Regions from separate parts of the Homo sapiens genome. Here all the other regions are linked to region 3. The links are contacts of gene promoters, found by promoter capture Hi-C in blood cells and fetal thymus (Javierre and others, 2016). All regions are on one chromosome and are shown on one strand. The core of a region is centred on a gene start or on the middle of the fragment in contact, and the rest is flanking DNA. Distances in the headings are between cores, read along the strand shown. Region 1 overlaps C18orf63 (chromosome 18 open reading frame 63). Region 2 has its middle 35 kb from the start of LINC01922. Region 3 holds the start of CNDP1 (carnosine dipeptidase 1).

The links. Contacts are between HindIII fragments. The CHiCAGO score rates a contact against its expected background, and 5 or more counts as called.
Region 1: a contact is called between a fragment that was not itself captured here and the fragment with the promoter of CNDP1 in region 3, in 1 of 17 cell types (naive CD4 T cells). The highest score is 5.1, in naive CD4 T cells.
Region 2: a fragment that was not itself captured here is called in contact with the fragment with the promoter of CNDP1 in region 3 in 1 of 17 cell types (naive B cells); the score reaches 5.6 in naive B cells.

What each region holds. Positions count from the first base shown.
Region 1 is chr18:74,335,633-74,339,295 of GRCh38, forward strand. C18orf63 (chromosome 18 open reading frame 63) reads left to right here. Exons shown (of 14, transcript NM_001174123.2): 8 at 3,083-3,192. Among named protein-coding and RNA genes, the nearest start is that of C18orf63, 22 kb to the left of the region's middle. The HindIII fragment of the contact is 4,991 bases long and covers 1-3,663 here.
Region 2 is chr18:74,373,004-74,376,616 of GRCh38, forward strand. No RefSeq gene overlaps it. Among named protein-coding and RNA genes, the nearest start is that of LINC01922, 35 kb to the right of the region's middle. The HindIII fragment of the contact is 151 bases long and covers 1,695-1,845 here.
Region 3 is chr18:74,532,044-74,535,854 of GRCh38, forward strand. It overlaps CNDP1 (carnosine dipeptidase 1), which reads left to right and starts at 2,457. Exons shown (of 12, transcript NM_032649.6): 1 at 2,457-2,648. The coding sequence starts at 2,625. The HindIII fragment of the contact is 13,353 bases long and covers 1-3,811 here.

The DNA.
Region 1 (3,663 bases), core at 180-2,679, 200 kb before region 3:
TGCTTTGAAATTTAATTATATGGAAAATTTGGGAAATGAGTGCCTCGAAACAAATTTCTATTTATTTCGTAGATGGATATTTACTGGGTACTACTATGTATATATGCCAAGTGCTGATGGAAAACACCTTTTCCTCCCAGAATGTTTTATCTAGGTCAGAAGAAAGAAGAGCATGCACACATAAAACTTACCAGAAGAAGGGAACATTTACTGAGTACTGGTTAATATTCACATACCCAGAAAATTCAGTGTAGGCCTAGAATCACATTAAAATTCTCAGATCGGCACTTACTGGCAGTGCCTCTTTGGCATGTTAGTTAATCTCGCAGAATCTCCATTTTTCTTATAAATTGGAGATAATGATATCCCTTCTAGGGTTGTAAGGAGGTTATGGTGTAAAGTACATTAAGGGCCTAGCATAGTACCTGGCAGTAGAGGTTAAAAAATGATAGCTATTGTTATTATTTTATAAATAAGTAAATTAAGACACAAAGCAGTTAAGTAAGTTGCTCTGGATCATAAAGGTAGTAAGAGATTCAGGATCTGAGTTTGTCCTTCAACTCTGTCCTTTCTGCTGTACCATGCTTCCTTCACCTAGCCTTAGGTTTTTTGGTTCAAATTTGTATGTCCCATAGAGCCTTACAGAAATAGAAACCTAATATATGTTAAATAAAAATACATTAAAAAACAATGTTTGTTAATGGAGTATCAAAATTTGTGTTATAGGAACTATGTTACTTGAGGAATTAAGAGAAAAAGAAAATGTCTGAGGGAATCATATGTGAAATCTTTGAAACACTTATAATATTTTTCACACTTTTCTTCTTGAAATAATCTCCTCTCTTGATTTATCTGAAACTGATTTTTCTAGAATCTCCTGGAATTCATTTATCTTCATTCATTTATCATTTTAAATGTTGCTGTTTCTTAGGGTTCCATTTTCAGCCCTCTTTTCCTTAGCAGGCTTACCCATTTCAGTAGCTTCAGCCTATACACCAGTACCTCCCAAATATTCTTGTATAGTTGTAACTTTTCTGTCATCTCTTGGATACTTTCAAATGAATGTACTAATGGCAGTCAGACCCAATTATGTCTAAAACTGAATGTATTTATGTGTCACCTTCCTCAACCCCAAATCTGTTCCCCCTGTGTAATTATTCTTTTCATTAGTGGCATCAGCAGTCAATAATTTACCTACCTAAATACTTCAGAGTTATCCTTGGCTTTCCCTCTTTCTCACTTTCTCTTTCCAGTTAGTCTTTAATAGCCTACTGTGGTCTCTGAAATGGACTCCTCTCTGCCTCCATTTATGTTGCTCTAATTCAGACTCTCTTTTTTTACTTGAACTATTAAACCAGTCTCCATATGGGCCTGTTTCCAGCCTTTCTCCTTCAAGTTTATTATCTAATTTTTCCTTACAATGTCAACAGAGTTCACTTTCTAAAACAAAGGTCCCCAGCCTAAATATCTTTAGTATTTCAACATTGCCTAGAGAAAATTAAGTCTAAATTGTTCAGATTGGCGTTATAAGGAGAAAATAATATTTATTGAATACCTGCTTTTCAGTATGGTTTTAGTCATCATATAAGGGCACTTTATAAATATTTGCTAAATAAAGAAATACAAAGGGTTAGCATTCGCAGTCTCTTGGAGTATATGGTGAACAGCTGGGTGGTTTGCCAGTCTTTAATCTGTGTTGAGAAAGACCAATGTAAACAATAAGTACTGGTACTTACTGAGGTCCCTGCAGCAATCGACTTGAGTCTCTGAATACTGTAGAAAGTACCCAGAGGATGTATACTCAAGCTATATAAGTAGGTGTATGTGGGAACCCATAAACTTTAAACATTTGAACCTGATACCTACCTTCTGTGAATTCAATTTTAAGTTCTGTTTTCTCTCAGTTTAGTCCTCCCTCTGCAACCAGTCTTTTCTGACATTCATAACCATGCCTCCTCTAACCATGTTTTTATCACACATTTCAGGCAACTGATCTCTTAAGCACAGTACATCACAGTGCAAGATTTATCTCTTGTGCACAGGAAAATATGTGTCCTTATTCATTCTGCGTGTCCTTGCTCTTTTACCTCACAACGTAACTAGCATATCTTATCTTCCTCTTCCTGCATTCATGTTTTCTGCTCTTCCCTGCTCCTCCATTTCCATTAGTCTTAATGAATGACATAGGAACTCAGAGAAGGATCAGTCACTGGACATGGAGAAGATGGGTCTAGATCCAGGCATTAGGACCTTATTGGTAGGAGTCCAGGCAATAAAAAGTTGTCCAGTTTAGTTGGACTTCCTTGAAAAGTAGTAGGCAGCGAAGTTAGAACATTGTTTCCCAAAAGATGTTAGGTGGTTGGTTAAGAATGGGGTAAGGGTTTATGAATCATTCTGTCTAATGTTAATATAGTGTCCTTTCACCCATTAATACTTTATTTTTTCACCCTCCTTGAGGTCTCTTTATATCTTTGGCTAACTGGAACAGTGCCTCTCAGGGAGATTTTCCAGGGTAAGAGAGCTGTAATTGGCAAACTCTTGTAGGTTAAATACAAGCCAAAATGCCCTACAGGGAGGACACTTGAGGAACAGGGAAGAAAGTGTTCTAGGAAGCTGGGAGGGGTATAAAAGGAGACTGGAGCATTGGCTCTGTCTTTTCTCCTCCAAAAGACCAGATGGAGGTATAATTCCCTTACTCATCCTCCATTTAAAAAAACAATTGAGGTTAAAAGCTATTATTTTAAAATATGAACACCTTCCTTTGGAAGAGATTCAACTTCCTGCAAATTAACATAATTAAAAAAACCACCTGAAAACCAACTAAAATCACTGCAAAATAGGAGTTTGGGCTTGGATGGTAAGAGGGAAAGCATGAAATACTTCATATATTGTATAAAGGAGAAGCAGGGTGAGCTGCAACTTTGACTACTTATGTAAAGTGGTTATGCATGATTCAATGTAACTTAAGTCTTTAAATCTACTTTATAACCTACTGTGTGTGTGTAACAAATATGTATCTTTTAAAATGTTTCCTTTTTTGCCAAATGATTTGAGGACTTACAAATCTTATTTCTATTAAAAGCTAAAAGAGTTTGAGATTTCCCAGAGTATTATAAAGGATTTTCATGCTAACAAGCATGCTGTCATTGAGAGACATTCCATTTTAAGCAACTGGTGCTACGTTTTGCCAAGGTGAGATTTCAATTTGTAATATCTAGGGTGGGTTCAAAATATGGTGGTTTCCCTTATTTTGCTTTCTTAACATTGATATGTGTAAAAGTATAAACTATTTTGGTGAATTTTAAAATACTGAATTATGACTTCACAAAGGTATTGAAACAATATTGTCATATTTACAAAAGCCATGAATTTTCTTTATCAAATTAATAATTTTATTATATATTCACATCTTATTAGATCTAGTTTCAAAAAAGGTAATATTTCTAAATTTCTCATTATAAAATGAAAACTATCAAAATAATATTAATAAAACCTCATAAACTTATATCTAATAATGATTCATTATAATTTGATATGAGCTGAGTTTTGAGTTTGTACTATTTTCAGGAAAAAATAATTTGTTACTAGTATAAGCAGGACTATTGGGATAAAATTTTAAATTGCTTAGGAAAAAGAACTTCAGTAGCATACACATAATAATTC
Region 2 (3,613 bases), core at 520-3,019, 160 kb before region 3:
GCAACAAGACATTCCCAATGGGCTGGGCGCAGTGGCTCATGGGAGGCCGAGGTGGGCAGATCATTTGAGGTCAGGAGTTTGAGACTAGCTTGACCAACATGGTGAAAGCCGCCTCTACTAAAAATACAAAAATTAGCCCAGCATGGTGGTGGGCACCTATAATCTCAGCTGCTTGGGAGGCTGAGGCAAGAGAATTGCTTGAACCTGGGAGGCGGAGGTTGCAGTGAGTTGAGATCATGTCATTCCACTCAAGTCTGGGCAACAGAGCAAGACTCTGTCTCAAAAAAAAAAAAAAAAAAGACATTACCAGTGGGTATTTTGTGTATTATTTTGGGTGACCCATTTTTAAATACTTTTAAAAAGTGTCCAAATTTTCCATAATGAATATGAATTATTTGTATTATCAAGGAAAAAATCATTCATATTATTGTTTTTTTAAAAAAGGTGGCACGAGGCACGGCATTTTGCCGTCAAGCCAGATAGCTATTTCCTTTTGTTTGATATGTGCAGATACCACAGGAGTGATAGTGTTAAATTTAGGTTAATTCCACTTTGATTTTCTCGTCTTATTCTTACCTTATCTGTTTTATCTCCTTTGTGGCTTTAGGCCTGTTTCACTCAGAGACGTCACGTTATGGCTTGTGCTGTTTCTAGGGCACTAGGTAAGCACCCACATCCTTTTGAACATGCGAAGCTAATACATATGTAACAAACTTGCACGTTGTGCACATGTACCCTAAAACTTAAAGTATAATTAAAAAAAAAAAAAGTAAATAGTCAAGCCAGAAAAGCCTAACAGGAACCTGCCAGATACCTTCACCCCAGTACCGCTCATTAAAGGGGGATGACTTAATGGGAGGACCCTGTACACTTCCAGGGAATCCCAATAACATATTTAACTGAGAAATGATAGTTTTAAGTAACTGAAGCCACAAAAACAGATCTGTTTTCTCAATGATGAATATTTGAGCAACTACTTGAGCTGGGATAAGTGGCTTCTCAGGAACCTCATGAGCCCCCAACAGAATTCAGGGCGGTTATTAAAAAAGAAAGACAAATGGATGCTGGGAGATGCCCAATGTTGACTGCGAACTGTGATCCAGGAATGCTGATCTTCTCAACCTGTAACTACAAATTAAGTGGTCATATTTCCACTAAAATAGGCTTTCATTCATTTGTCAAATAGATGTTAAGCACTCAATAAGTGCCAGAAAGTGTGCAAGGGGACAGATACACAATGTGATATACAAGACGAGACCCAGCTGCTGGGGAAGACAGACAATTAAAGAAATCACGAGCATAGGTTAAATGCCACCACAAAGGAAGTACAATGAGCTAGAACGGAAGCGTATAGCAGGACCCAGCCTTCCAGAAAGAAGAGAAATTCCATGGGTGGGAATTAGCAGGGTGAATTGGAAATAAAAGAGTGGTCAGGCAAGGAAAATGTGTGTGAGATGACCCAGAGAAGACCATGAGAGCTTTAAGGAACTAGAGACATCAGTAAGGCTGAAGTGCAAGGAGAAAGTAGTGGTGAGAGGTGCAGCTGACAAGAAAGAACTGGGAATTTGGGGTTGGAGATGACTTAAGATAGGGGGATCAGGAGGCTGTGACAGCAGGACAGAGGGAAGGAAACTGATTAAGAGTTATTTAGGAAGTACAATTGACAGGATTTACTATTAACTGAATATGGTAAAAGCTTAGATGACTGACCTTAGACTTCTCTTTGCCAATAAAAGCATGAAATGCTATAATCCTCAAATCACTGCTTTAGCTATATCTCACAATTTTGACATGTTATATTTTCATTTTCATTCAGTTTGAAATACTTTCCAATTTCCATTTAGAAGCTTATTAATTTCCAAATATTTGTGGCTTTTCCATATATTATACCTTTCTCTTATTGCTATTTAGTTTTATTCCACTGTGGTTACTATTTTAAATTTATGTAAGCTTATTTTATAGCCTAATGTATGATCTGGTATAGCGAATGTTTTACAAGCACTTATGAAAAATATGTGTTCTGCTGTTGTTGAGTAAAGCCATCTATACATGTCAGTGAGGTCAATTGATTAATACTGTGTTCGAGTCTTCTATATCCTTACTGATTTTTTATCTACTTGTTCTATAAATTATTCAGAAATTAGTTTGATTCCCTTGAGGTTTACTTATAAGCTTTTTGGGGCCTAGAGTAGCCTTTATTCCAGGACTGATTTGACTCCTCTTCTAAGTCATGGCCTTTCTGGGGCTTGTTCTAAATGCCCCATATATTCAGTGAGGTCTCTCTCTCTGGCTGGAGGGAACTTGAGTGATTTTTGGCTTTGCAATTTTAGGGAATTGTTCATTTTAGAACTCCTCACCAGGTGCAGTGGCTCATGCCTGTAATCCCAGTGCTTTGGGAGGCCGAGGCTGGCAGATCACTTGAGGCCAGGAGTTTGAGACCAGCCTGGCCAGCATGGTGAGACTTCATCTCTACTAAAAATATAAAAATTAGCTGGGTGTGGTGGTGGGTGCCTGTAATCCCAGCTACTCAAAAGGATAAGGCATGAGAATCACTTGAACATGGGAGGTGGAGGTTGCAATGAGCTGAGATCATGCCACTGCACTCCAGCCTGGGCGACAGAGTGAGTGAGACTCCATCTCAAAAAAAAAAAAAAAAAGAACTCCTCATAATTACTCTTTCACCAGAAGCTTTTCTTATCTGGCCTTATATTTCTATAGACTTCTGTTTTAAAAAGATTCCATGAACTCATGTGCAGATTTCCGGAGTACTTTTATCTGTGTAGCCCCTTCCCTTGAGAACTCTGCCTCACAGGTTCTTCACAGAGCCGCCTGGCCTTCCCCATCTCTGACCTCTGTCTCTGCAGCTCTGTGAAGCTGCCTCACTTTTTTGGAGTTCTCCCTCCCTGGACTGTAGCCCAGGACTTATCTCTAGGCAGAAAGGCCAGCTGATGGTAGGGCTTACCTTGTCTTCTTCCTTTTTCTCAGGAATCACAGTCTTGTTTTGCCCTATATCCAAATAGTGGCTTTCTATATTTTATCCTTTTTTTATAGTTGCTTACAGAGGGAGGGAGATCACAGGCCGTCTTACTCCCTCATGGCCAGAAGCATGAGATCACTAGCAGATCATTAATGAGATCCAGAGACGATGGAGAAAGCAATGAGTCATGCGCAGTTTTGAGGTTACTGCCATGGGCAAGCAGGTGGATGATGGTCCCATTCACGGAGATGGCAAAATCCAGGGTGATAAACATGGGTAGGGGAGGGCATGAAAGAACTTCATGGGTTTACTGTTGTGTATGTTGGATCTGAGTCACTTGCAAGTCATTAAAGAAGCGAGTAAGCAGTGGAGGTTACAGAACAGCTCCCTCACGAGCTTCCACCTCCTTCTCTTCATTCCACTCTGGGCTGCAGTTGCCATGGACTAGTGACCCCTTCCCAGGGTAATCAGCAGTGGTTATAACCACTTATTTTAGAAGAAAAATTTATTTGTGAAATTTAGTTGGGATAATCCAGCCCCACAGTCTTCCAAATTATTAGGGTGCATGGCCCAGCATTGGTACATTTCCCAAAGGCTGGATTGTCCTTTCTAAACAACACAACAGATGAAACACCA
Region 3 (3,811 bases), core at 1,207-3,706:
AGATGGAAGACTGAGAAGGCAAAATAATTGGAATTCTTGTAGGAGCACTTTCCCCTGGACCTGTGTTTGGCTTCCGTTCTTGCTAATATCTGTTGGAGTCTTTCCTTCCTTCCTTCCAAACTATATTAGTAATAGAATCAAATGTCTTCTTTTGTAATCAACTAACAAAACATTTTTTAAATTTGTATTGATTTATTTTTAATTTTTATAAAGATGGGGACTCACTCTGTTGCCCAGGCTGGTCTCCAACTCCTGACAAGGAATCCTCCTGCCTCAGCCTCCCAAAGTGCTGGGATTCTAACAAAATATTTGAGCCAGCTCTGTTTTCCTCTTTTCTAGAAAAAAAATTATTGTGAGGAACACTCATATCTCACATATTTTCTGCAAGGAAAGAGTAAAGTGCATTTGACAGAGGCTGAGAAAGAGGAATTCTCTGATCTGAATTACATGGGCTTTTGAAGCCCTGGGCTCGCCCGTGCGCTATGCTCTTGCCAGAGGTGACTTTGGCTGGGTAGGGGCAAGGTTTTCCACTGATGACTGCAGGCAGCAGGGCCCCCACCCTCCTAGGATCACAGCCCACACCTGGGCCCAGCCTCACCCTCTCCTTCCTTTCCAGCCCTCGGAATTCTGAGTATGATCCCAGCAACTTGGCCTTCGGAAGAAGGGCCAGGCCCACTTCCTGGGAGCTGCTGTGCTGGGCCTGGAGCTCAAGGAGCCCGGCCTGGCAAGTGTCAGGGAAAGGGTGTGAGGATGGGGAGGAGGTGCAGAGACGCAGCTGGTGGAGACGCTGCCCCTCTGCAAGGGAGAGGGGCCCGGCCCTGATAGCCACAGCTAGCCTTAACTAGCAGGGATAATGAGTTCCAACTCTGCCTTTCCAGAGATTTCTTTGTTGGTAAAAATTATTTGATTATTTGTCCTTTCATTCAGCAAACAGTTAGAGTAAGTCTCCAGTGTGCCAATCCCTGCAAGAGTTATTCAGAGAGAAATGATGCAAAAGAATCCCAGTCCCCCAGAAAAGCCCCGGGACCCCTCAACCCAAGGCTCTGGCCTGTGCCCTGCTGCCTCCTTTTCTCTACTGTCCCCTGACCTTCCCACCAAAATTTATATGTTGACATCCTAACCCCCAAGACCTCAGAATGTGACCTTCTATGGAGATAGGGTCATTGCAGATTGAATTACTTATCTTTAGATAAGGTCACATGGGCATAGGATGGACCCCTGATTACACACAACTGTGTCCTTATGAGAAGGGACAATCTGGACACACACACATACACAGGGAGAACATCATAAGAAGATGAGGGCAGAGATCGGGTGATGCTTGTACAAGACAAGGGACACCAAGGACGGCCAGCAGCCACGCGGGTCAAGGCCTGGAGCACGCCCTTCCCGCTCAGCCTCAGGAGAAACCTGCCCTGCCCATACCTTCATCTCAGACTTCCAGTCTCCAGAATTGAGACCGATTTCTGTTGCTTAAGCCACCCAGTGTAGGGTACTTTTGTTAGAGCAGATGTTGGGGCTCAGAAGCCAATACCCCAAAATATGGTGCTTTGTTCAAGCTGAACTGAAAAGGAACTTCAAGGCCTCTCGGCTCCCCCACCCCCACCATCTCTCCCAGAGTTCCTGAAGTGTCCTTATCTCCTTCAAGTCTGACCCACCAAAGAAGAAAGGAATGACCTCTAGTCCCTTCCCTGAGTTTTCGTTAACTGAACCCATATCTCAGGAAGGAAGGCTGACACCGAACACGCTGGACAGACTTGTCAAGACCATTGTCTGCTCCGGGGCCCAGCAGACTTGAACGAAGACCGTGGCGTGCTCTTCAAGCCCACTGAATCCTCCCTCGTGAGCGCTGATTGCCCTCAGCTGAAGTCCTCTTTTCTCCTCCCATAACCTGTTGCGCGAGAATCTAAGCCGCCACTCCTTGTGGAACCTCAAGAGGGTGTCTCAGCTTCCCAACCCCATTAGGGATTGGTCCTTCCTTCTGAAGGCTCCCATGTCACTTAAAACTAGGAGCAAATCAATCTGTTATGCCTCTTCTCCAATTCAACTGCCCTTTGCAAGCTGATTTTGCAGCGAACCTTCAGAGAGCTGGGAAAACTCTACCCTCGGCCCCTGCACAGCCCTAGGAAGCTAATCCTCGGCCGTAACATTCCATCACAAGGGCCCACAGCCACAGTGTGTGGGGGCCTGTCATGTGAGGGGGCTGTCACCTGAGGGGGCTGTGCCGCTGGCTCAGCTCTGCCTGCTGGCCGGGGCCCTACTCCCTCTCAGAGATGACACACAAGTGCCCCCAAAGAAGAACCCGAGGAGTCGCAGGCTGGGCCAGGCTGCTGGCTTCCAGTGACATCACATGACTTTGGGGCCACTGCCTCATCCCGTATCTGCGCGTATGAGATGCATTGTCTCTTCCTCTGCAGTTGAGCTGAATGAATACCTCCGAAGCCGCTTTGTTCTCCAGATGTGAATAGCTCCACTATACCAGCCTCGTCTTCCTTCCGGGGGACAACGTGGGTCAGGGCACAGAGAGATATTTAATGTCACCCTCTTGGGGCTTTCATGGGACTCCCTCTGCCACATTTTTTGGAGGTTGGGAAAGTTGCTAGAGGCTTCAGAACTCCAGCCTAATGGATCCCAAACTCGGGAGAATGGTGAGTAGGACCTCCTCCATCAGAGTCCGTGCATTGGGTGCCAGAATTCCATTTGTCCCGGGAGCATGTGCGTTAAGCCCAGTTGGGCAGGGCAGGCACCCAGCGTGGCCCCAGATGCTGCTCCTCATGGTGTTCTTAGGTGCTGTCTTGGCCGAGGAATGTGGTATTTGGAATTATATTTTATCAGTAATGCTTTTGGGTAGTTGTGTGTTCTTAACAATAATTAAATGGCATTATTGTCAAGTAGTTCATATTCAAATTGTTCATGAACTCAGTCTTCTTAAATCAATTTTTTTCTGTACTTTTTCTCTTTAAAAAAAATGAGTTTGCTTCCTGGAAGAATTTGCCTAAATAATGGTAACAGACAGTGTGCTGTTTGTCCTGGTCCCAGGTTCCCGACTTAAGGGCTAGTTTGCAAGAGCTAATCACCGGGCTAAATCACCCCAGGCCTTTCTCGGCGAGGTTTCCATGGTTCAGGTGCAAACCTGAGTGTGGGTGTGGCGGGAAGGCTTCTCTCTAGGAAAACAAGCAGGCAGGTACCTTTGGCTGTGAGGTTTTGTGGGGTTGTGTTCCAGACTACTTGGAAAGATAAAATTCATGGACGCTTTTTATTTCCATTGCAAACACACACATACACACACAGAAATTTTCAGAATTTTGTGGAAGGTTGATACGTAGAAGACTCTCAAAAGACATACTGAAACAAATACATGCAAATGCGAGGCTGGAGACACAGTGAGCAGGCAGGTGGTGACCTGACCACAGCCGGATTCTAGAAGTGGGCTTTGCCCACCTGCAAGACCATGAGATTCCCACACCATGCTGCAAAATCACTGCTCTGAGAGAAAGAACCTCACCCTGTGGTCTGGCCATGCTTTCCATTGCTGACTTTTTTTTTTTTTTAAAGAACCCATGACTGGCCAGGGCATTGGGGTGGGGGTTAGAAGAGGACATTTCACTGAATACTGTCTTACTTTAAAAAATCTTTAAACTGTGTCATGATAGTATCTATTCAAAACATTAAAGTTAAAAGCAACATGAAAGAAAATAATTTCCCTGGCTGGGCATGGTGGCTTATGTCTGCAATCCCAACACTTTAGGAGGCCAAAGCAGGAGGATCACCTGAGCCCAGGAGTTCAAGACTGGCCTGGGCAACATAGTGA